3 separate regions of the Homo sapiens genome follow, and all the other regions are linked to region 1. The links are contacts of gene promoters, found by promoter capture Hi-C in human tissues and cell types (Jung and others, 2019). All regions are on one chromosome and are shown on one strand. Each heading gives the region's core, a stretch centred on a gene start or on the middle of the fragment in contact. The rest is flanking DNA. Distances are from core to core; before and after follow the strand shown. Region 1 holds the start of CST5 (cystatin D). Region 2 has its middle 8.0 kb from the start of CST4. Region 3 holds the start of LOC124904966 (a long non-coding RNA gene).

Region 1 (2,766 bases), core at 108-2,607:
AGTGTACAGAGGACCAGTGCTGGCAGCACGTCTCCCAGAGGGGAGGAGCAAGAGAGGCTCTTGGGCTCCCACATTCATCCTGTGGCTGCTGCTCCTTCTCCTGACACCCCCACCACCTGCCAGGGGTCTCCCTGCGCCTTCCACCTGGACACACCCACAGTTACCGTGAGACTCCAGGTCGTTCCCTTCCCTGCTCACACCCCCTCCAGGAGCTTCCTCTTCCTGGAGCAGGCATGCCCAGCCTTGCCTCAGGGCCTTTGCACTGACTATTCCCTGCTGCCTGGGGCTTCTCAACCTTTCCGGTCTCTTAGAGACTTCCCTGACCAGGGTCCAGTAGCACCCACCCTCTCTCTAACTGAGCGACTATAATTCCCTGATCTAAATTGTTGATCACCACTCTGCATCCTCCCACACACCCTAATGGCTGGGCTATGCAGTACCACAGCCACCAGCAGCCACTCGTGGCCACAGGGCACTTGAAATGGGGCTAGTCCACAGTGACGCTTGGTCTAACTGTAAAAAATACACAGGGAACTTCAAGACATTACACTCACACAAAAGAATGTAAACTAGCTCCTTAAGAATAGTCCTGAAGTGTTGAAGTATTTTGGATATATTAGGTTAAAGTAGAAATACCAAAATTACTTTCAGCTGTATCTTTTAACTTTTTCAAATGTGTTTTAAATTGCTCCTGGGTTTCTGTCACATCTCTGTTGGATGGCAGCTCTGCAAGTTCATGTCTACGGCTCTATTGCCCAGACTGCTTGGTGCAGGGGGAAGCTGGTGACAGGTTTGTTTATTGAATAATGAGGAGTTATGAAACGAGAACCCAGTGAACTTTACCCAAAGGTTAATTACTTTATGTTTGGCAAAGAAGTTCCCCAGAAGAGGGCATGGACAAGGTCATCCCGGAGCTTCTGAAACAGCTCCCTGCCCCAGGAATTCCCAGACCATGACCACGTGCTCCTGGATGCCCCTGACATCTGAAGACTTTAGAAGGCCAAGCCCTGTATTTCTCCCTTTCCTGTGGACATAGGTGGTCACCAGGTTTCACAGCCCAGGGAGCGGTGTCACCTCTCTGGAATCCAGAGTGAGCCAAGCTTTAGAGCACTGAGGAAGAGGGGCAGGGCTGTGGGGAGGTTGCGGTCAGGACAGGAGTGGGGAGGAGGATGAGGAGGAGGCATGGGAGGAGCGAAGGGAACTTAGGGAGGGAGGGAGGTGGTTGGGGGTGGAAAGGGAGATAGAGACAGAAGAGGAGGGGTAGAAAGAGGAGGAGGAGCCAGGGGCGGGGCCAGGGAGCAGGTGGGGTTGGGGGACACCCAAGTAGGATAAATGCACAGCTAGCTTCTGGCCTGGGCTTCCTGCCTCAGCCTTCTGCTGCTTTGCTCTCTGGGAGATCCAGCTCCTTGCTCTGTGTCCCAGTAGAACATGATGTGGCCCATGCACACCCCACTGCTGCTGCTGACTGCCTTGATGGTGGCCGTGGCCGGGAGTGCCTCGGCCCAATCTAGGACCTTGGCAGGTGGCATCCATGCCACAGACCTCAATGACAAGAGTGTGCAGTGTGCCCTGGACTTTGCCATCAGCGAGTACAACAAGGTCATTAATAAGGATGAGTACTACAGCCGCCCTCTGCAGGTGATGGCTGCCTACCAGCAGGTGCGTGCTACCACCACCCTGGGGGTCCTGAGTCCCAGCTGGGTTTTTTGCCTCACCCCCCAGAGCACTCCCAGCAAATCAACATTATCTAAACCGCAGACTCATTCAGCTTTCTCTGACTGTCTGCTGATGGTCTTCATGCCCTAGGACACTCCTTGGCCGTGAGTGCATGAGTTCAGCCCTGTCCTGTCCCCTCGGCCTCTTTTAACCTGCAGCAGCCACTGTGTCTGTACCATGACTGTGGCATTTCCCAGGGTCCAGCAGGTGTGGATGGAGACTGTGCTGACTCTGGGTGGGCTTGATGCTGCTCAGGATGAGATCCAGGCCACGAGGTTCATCTTCCTCCCTGAGTCCTCTCCACAGGGGCCACACGGGAACCTGACTCCTTGTCCTGGATAGCCCCGCTTCCCTCCCAAGTCACGCCCCTGGGCACAGCCCGTTATGGCTAGTGGCCTTCACTCTCAGGCTGGCTGACCACCCCCTACAGCCCAGGACAGCTGAGTTCCTGCTGGGGTAGAGCATGCCTGACCCTGCCTCTGCCAGCTAACGCAGAGTTAGACCTCAGCAAAATGAGGACAGCAATCACCCAGCAGAGTGAAGGAGGTGGTTGGGTCCAGAGGGAGGAAGCTTCAGCAGGGCTACCGAGCCCAGCTTGACCTACGTCCCATGGCAGAGCAGCAGTGACACAGCGACCACAGGGCTATATGGCCTGCCAGCCTTTAGAGCTCCTCCACCTTCTCTTGGAAAGTCAGAGGAGTCCAGACCAGCCCTGTTTCTCCTCCTGCAGCCCTCTCCCTGCACAGGAGGGGCATTCCCTGGTGCTGTGGTCCCTGCTGGCCTGCACTCCCTCTTAAGTGTGTCACTCACTGGGAGTGAAGCACAGAATGATGTAGATCGTTGGGCCCTGGAGCCTATTTTACAGAGCAGCAGACTGACACCGGAGGGATCACAGGACTTCCATGTGGTTCTACAGGACTTGTGTGTGGTTCCACAGGGCAAGGTCTAGCACCCTGGTCCCAGGGTCCCTCATCCCATGCTTCTCCACAGTTCTGACAAGTCATGTTTTGGGGCGGCACTGTGCAGGGAAAGCATTCAGTTCTCTTCTGA
Region 2 (2,766 bases), core at 190-2,689, 200 kb after region 1:
AATGATCACTAATCACAGCATTTTAAAACTCTCATTGTTGTAGTGGGCTTCAAAATTGTGCAAATGTATAATTATATCCTATATTGATTACCTTATGGAATGTGCAGAAAGAGTTTGTCCTGAAAGAAGTATTTCTTCAAGCCATCTTACTGTTGGTCAAAGTTTTACATCTGTGTTGTCTGGAGCTGTCAGATTTCATCAGGATAAGAGGAGGATGGAGGCCAAGTCTGATCCATCGGGTCTGTGTCACCTCACAGGCATACATCCTTGCTGTGAGCAGTTCACTACACAGTTCTGCACCCTACAAATGTGAAAGTCAAGAAATCCTATCTCATTAAATTCCTGTAAAAAATAAAACAATTTGGGTCTCACTTGGGTAAAATGAAAAACGAAATAACATAAAATAAAAACAAACTTCATGATACACTAACTATTGTACATACCATATTAGTGAGTACATTTTCATGAGGATAACACTTTCATTTTTGACTAGGTGTCGAAAGAACCCAATCTTTTGGGGCCTATTTTCAGCATTCTTAAAGACAATAAATTCCAAACAAAATTTCCTATCCCATCAAACTAAGCTTCATAAGCAAAGAAGAAAAAAAAATCTTTTCCAGACAAGCAGTCACTGAGAAAATGTGTTACCACTAGACCAGCTTTACAAGAGATGCTTAAACGAGGTCTAAAGATGGAAATAAGAGAACAACACCTACTGTTGCAAGAATACAGTTAAATGCATAGTTCAGAGACAGTAGATAGCAACAACACAATACATACTACAAGGAAAACAGCTGTCACCTTCATGATAGGATCAAAAACTCACATATAAATATTAACCTTGGGCCGGGCACAGTGGCTCGCACCTGTAATCCCAGCACTTTGGGAGGCTGAGGCGGGTGGATCACAAGGTCAAGAGTTCGAGACCAGCCTGCCCAGCATGGTGAAACCCAGTGTCTACTAAAACTACAAAAAATTAGCTGGGCATGGTGGTGCACACCTATAATCCCAGCTACTTGGGAGGCTGAGGCAGGAGAATCACTTGAACCCAGGAGGCAGAGGTTGCAGTAAGCCGAGATCGTGCCATTGTACTCCAGCCTGGGCAATAGAGCAAGTCTCTGTCTCAAACAAACAAACAAACAAACAAAAAATATTAATCTTGACTATAAACAGCCTAAATGACCCACTTAAAAGGCACAGATTACAAGTTGTATTTAAAAACCCAGACCCATCCATCTGCTGTCTTTGAAAAGATCCATCTCACACATAATGACACCCATAGTCTCAACAAAAAGGGTTGGAGGGAGATCTATCACACAAATAGAAAACACAAAAGGGAGAGGTTTGCTATTTTCACATCAGATGAAACAGACTTTAATCCCAAAACAGCAATTTAGAAAGGACAAAGAAGGGCATTACATGATGACAAAGGGTTCAATTAAACGAGAAGACTTAGTTATTCTTAAACATGTGCACCCAACATTGCAGCCCCTAGATTGATAAACAAGTATGCCCAGGCCAACAAAAAGAATTAGTCACAGAATAATAATGGGGTACTTCAATATCCCAATGGCAGTGTTAGATAGATTATTGACGTAGAAAACTAACAAAGAAATTCTGGATTTAAATTTGATACTTGACCAATTGGACCTAATAGACATCTACAGAATACACCACCCATCAACCACAGAACATACTTTCTTCTCATGGGACCACAGAGCATGCTCTAAGACAGACCACATGCTCAGCCATGAAGCAGGTCTCAATAAATTAAAAAAGGAAAATCATACTAACTGTAATCTCAGACCACAGTGGAATAAAAATAGAAATCAATACCAATAAGACAAAATGAAATAAAAATAGAAATCCATACTAAAGAGAGTTGCTGAAGCCACAATTTTTCCTGAGTGATAGGTACTATGGCCAGGAACAGCTATGCAGTCATGGACTTGTGTGTGGGTGTCATTTCTGGGTGCCCCAGCCTGCCCCCTTTGTCAGTTGGGAGGTGTGTCCCACCAGTTTTGAGCTGCTGGTGTGAATGGGGAGTGTGGTTCATAGCTCCCTTATCTTGCAAATAATTTGGCAGAGCAAAAACACCCCCCCCTCAGGTCCAAGCCTGGGCATATTTCCCAGCATTCAACACTTCCACTTCCTGAAATAAGGGCCTGGCACCCCTCCCATGAACAGAGCTTCTTGCAACAGCCATTTCTCCACTCTGCAGCAAATTTTTTTGTTCCTCACTGAGGGACATATTTCCAGGCATTTGGCCCATCTGCTCACCTAGATTAAGATCCTGGGTCACCCCTCCATTGCTGTGCAGACATCTTGGTGCAGAAGCACCCTCTTCACTCCACAACCAGGCATAATTTCAAGAATTCAGTACACCCCCTCACCTGGATTAGGAGTATAAGTTGCCTTTCCCTTCTAATGCGGAGATCTTAGTGCGTCTTTATTTTCCACTCCTCTCCAGGGCATAGTTCCAAGCACTCAGTGCACCTGCTCTACTGGACTGGAACCCTGAGTCACTTCTCTTGTCCTGTGCAGAAATCTTGGTACAGCAGTGCCGTCTCTGTCTTGCTCAGGGATATTTCCAGGCATGTTGAGTACCCACTTACCTGGAATAGGAACCTGAGCTTCCCCTCCCTTCTCATGCAGAGATCTTGGTGCAGACGCACCCTCTCCACTCCATGCTGGGCACATTCCCAGGCATTTGGAGAACCTTCTCACCTGGATTAGGAGCCTCAGCCACCCCTCCCTTCAGGTGCA
Region 3 (2,766 bases), core at 146-2,645, 130 kb after region 1:
GGGAGCACCTGTTTCATTTCCTCTCCACCCCTATGGGATGTAACCAAGGTTTTACGTTGAAGAAAGTGAAGCAGCACCCAGGAGGCCATGAACTGGGGAGATTTGAGTCTGGGCCTCACCCGGTGTCAGGGGGTGGGGGCTGCACACACTGATTCAGGCTTCTGTTGGAAGACAGGGGCTGAGAGCAGAGGAGCATGTGCCCAGGAATCATGGTTAGGGGCAGAGTCTTCCCTGCATGGAGATCCTCATGGTTCTCTACCTGGGGAAAGTCTGTCTTGACATAAGCAACCACCATCCAAGGACACAAGGAACAGACAATTTTGTGTAAACCAGTAACTTTTCTGACATCTCTCTTCCTGGGGAAGTGGAGGGGGACGTCTGGCTCTGTAGAGGGCTCCCTCAACCATCTCCTTGTGTGTCTGTTCCCTAGGAGGGGAGCAGGGGGCAGGGAGGCTTTAAGGTGAGCATGTGGACCTTCATCTTCTGGACCAAGCTGAGGGTCTGGGCCCTGTCCGGAAGCCACCCGGTTTTTGGGAGTAAAGGAGGATACTGAGGGTCATGTTTTGGAAATATTGCACCCCTTCTAAGAGTTCCTTTAGCAAAAATAATGTCACACATTCTTACTAAAAGCCTAAAACCGCTGAGGTTAGAAACTCCACCTTCAGCATAGACAAATCACTCTGAAAGGAGGGATAAGTCCATTGGAGGCCTGGGAAGCGGGAACCAGAGCGGTCATTCCTTGGGCAGGTGGATTCTCAGCACTATGACCACTGGCAATCCAGGTTCCGTGAGGTCTGAGGCTTACATAATTCAGAGGGTTATCTACATGAAAAATAGCATAATATAAACTATTTGAAACTAAACACAGAAGTTAGTGTTTATTTAAGAAAAGGAAATAAGTCACAACAAATTACTCACTTTAAAATGCTGAAAAATGCTACAGTCATCCCAAATTCCAGAAACTAATATACATCCTAGTGCATTCAGTCACCAAAACTGATTTTGCAGTTAACAGACTCAGGATTATTGGCTTGTAGCAAAAAGGGAATAAATTCACATTAAGAAACCTGGGATGACTAAAAAAACAAAGCAAAGAGGTTATTATAAGACTGTGGGGAGGGATTCTTGAGGCTGTAGTGATGGACTCACAACGTAGCAGTCCTAAGTGTAAAGCAGCCAGTGTCAAGTCTGGTCTGCAAAGTGGACCCAGGTCCTCTGTCCTTAGAACCCATGAAGTCCAGCCAGATGTGAATGTTCCATCCAGAAACCCCTTCTCTGTAGCTCTGTGCTTCTGTGTAAAGGTGGACCTAGATCCTCCAGGCAGTGTGATGTTGTACTTACTCAAAAGCAAAGTTTCTGACAGCCCCTGATGCTGGAGAGCAAGGTCTTCCTTTGAGTCAGAAAGCAGTTGTCACCCAAGGAAGAGGCTGTTTGACATTTCGAAGCTGCAGCTTGAGAGAAGCATTGTTTCCTGCTCATGATGTCAGTGGCTTTGTCCTCATAAGTCCATCCATCCACCCTGCAGATGAAAGGGCAGATTTGCCCTTCCTTAATTTGTGTTCTTTTTACATGCTAACATAGCATTTTTATTAACTACTTGACTCAACAGTGTAACAAGTTATTTCTATGTTTTCATACTCAACTATTGAGTAACTATTTGCTTCATCACATGACATTGATTTTATAATAGAATTTTCCATAAATATAGCAGAAAGATAAACCAGTCTTTCCACTAAGTTTGATCACTTTAAAATTCTGATAAATAATACAATCATCCAAAATTATGAAATACTACAATCAATCCTACTTGTGAAAATCATGGATTATAACATTTTCTTTCTGCTTCAAAGCTCATATAGGTAATACTATGCAAATTTGTCTGATTGTTGTCTAATTTGGAAAAGCTTCCAGTTTTCTTTCATGTGAGCGCTAAGATTTTAGTACTTTCTAAATTTTCTTGACTTAAGATTGATGATCTTAAAGACTCTATCAATAATGCTCACTAAACACAGCATTTTAAAACTCTGACTGTTGTAGTGGGCTTCAAAATTGTGCAAATGTATAGCTATATACTATATTGATTACCTCATGGAATGCACAGAGTTTGTCCTGAAAGAAATATTTCTTCAAGCCATCTTACTGTTGGTCAATGTTGTGTCTCTGTTGTTTGGAGCTTGCAATTTCATCAGGATAACAGGAGGTTGAAGGCCAAGTCTGATCCATCAGTTCTGTGCCACCTCACAGGCATACATCCTTGCTGTGGGTAGTTTCACTACGCAGATCTGCACCCTACAAACATGAAAAATCAAGAAATTCTATCTCATTAAATTCCCATAAAAAATACAAAAACTTGGGTCTCACTTGGGTAAAATTAAAAACAAAATAACATAAAATAAAAACAAACTGCCTGGTGTGCTATTGTACATACCATATTAGTGAGTACATTTTCATGACACTAACCTATTTTCAGCGTTCTTAAAGACAATAGATTCCAACCAAGAATGTCCTATCCCATCCAACTAAGCTTCATAAGCAAAGAAGAAAAACAATCTTTTCCAGACAAGCAGTTACTGAGAAAATTTGTTACCACTAGACCAGCCTTAAGAGATGCTTAAGGGAGTTCTAAACATGGAAATAAGAGAACAATACCTACTGTTGCAAAAATACAGTTAAATATAGTTCAAAGACAGTATATAGCAACAATACAATACATACTGCAAGGAAACCAGTTGTCACCTTCATGGTAGGATCAAAAACTCACATATA

Evidence for each region. The method cuts DNA at HindIII sites, captures the fragments that hold promoters and counts their contacts. A contact is called where the count stands out against the background at its distance.
Region 2: a fragment that was not itself captured here is called in contact with the fragment with the promoter of CST5 in region 1 in 1 of the 25 tissues and cell types used here (thymus).
Region 3: a contact is called between a fragment that was not itself captured here and the fragment with the promoter of CST5 in region 1, in 2 of the 25 tissues and cell types used here (dorsolateral prefrontal cortex and spleen).

The regions. Positions count from the first base shown.
Region 1 is chr20:23,878,339-23,881,104 of GRCh38, reverse strand. CST5 (cystatin D) reads left to right here and starts at 1,357. Exons shown (of 3, transcript NM_001900.5): 1 at 1,357-1,659. The coding sequence starts at 1,429. RefSeq lists an enhancer at 1,035-1,864. The HindIII fragment of the contact is 5,935 bases long and covers 1-2,766 here.
Region 2 is chr20:23,679,684-23,682,449 of GRCh38, reverse strand. No RefSeq gene overlaps it. Among named protein-coding and RNA genes, the nearest start is that of CST4, 8.0 kb to the left of the region's middle. The HindIII fragment of the contact is 4,514 bases long and covers 1-2,766 here.
Region 3 is chr20:23,743,610-23,746,375 of GRCh38, reverse strand. It overlaps LOC124904966 (a long non-coding RNA gene), which reads right to left and starts at 2,289. Exons shown (of 2, transcript XR_007067750.1): 1 at 2,086-2,289; 2 at 852-1,519. The HindIII fragment of the contact is 5,709 bases long and covers 1-2,766 here.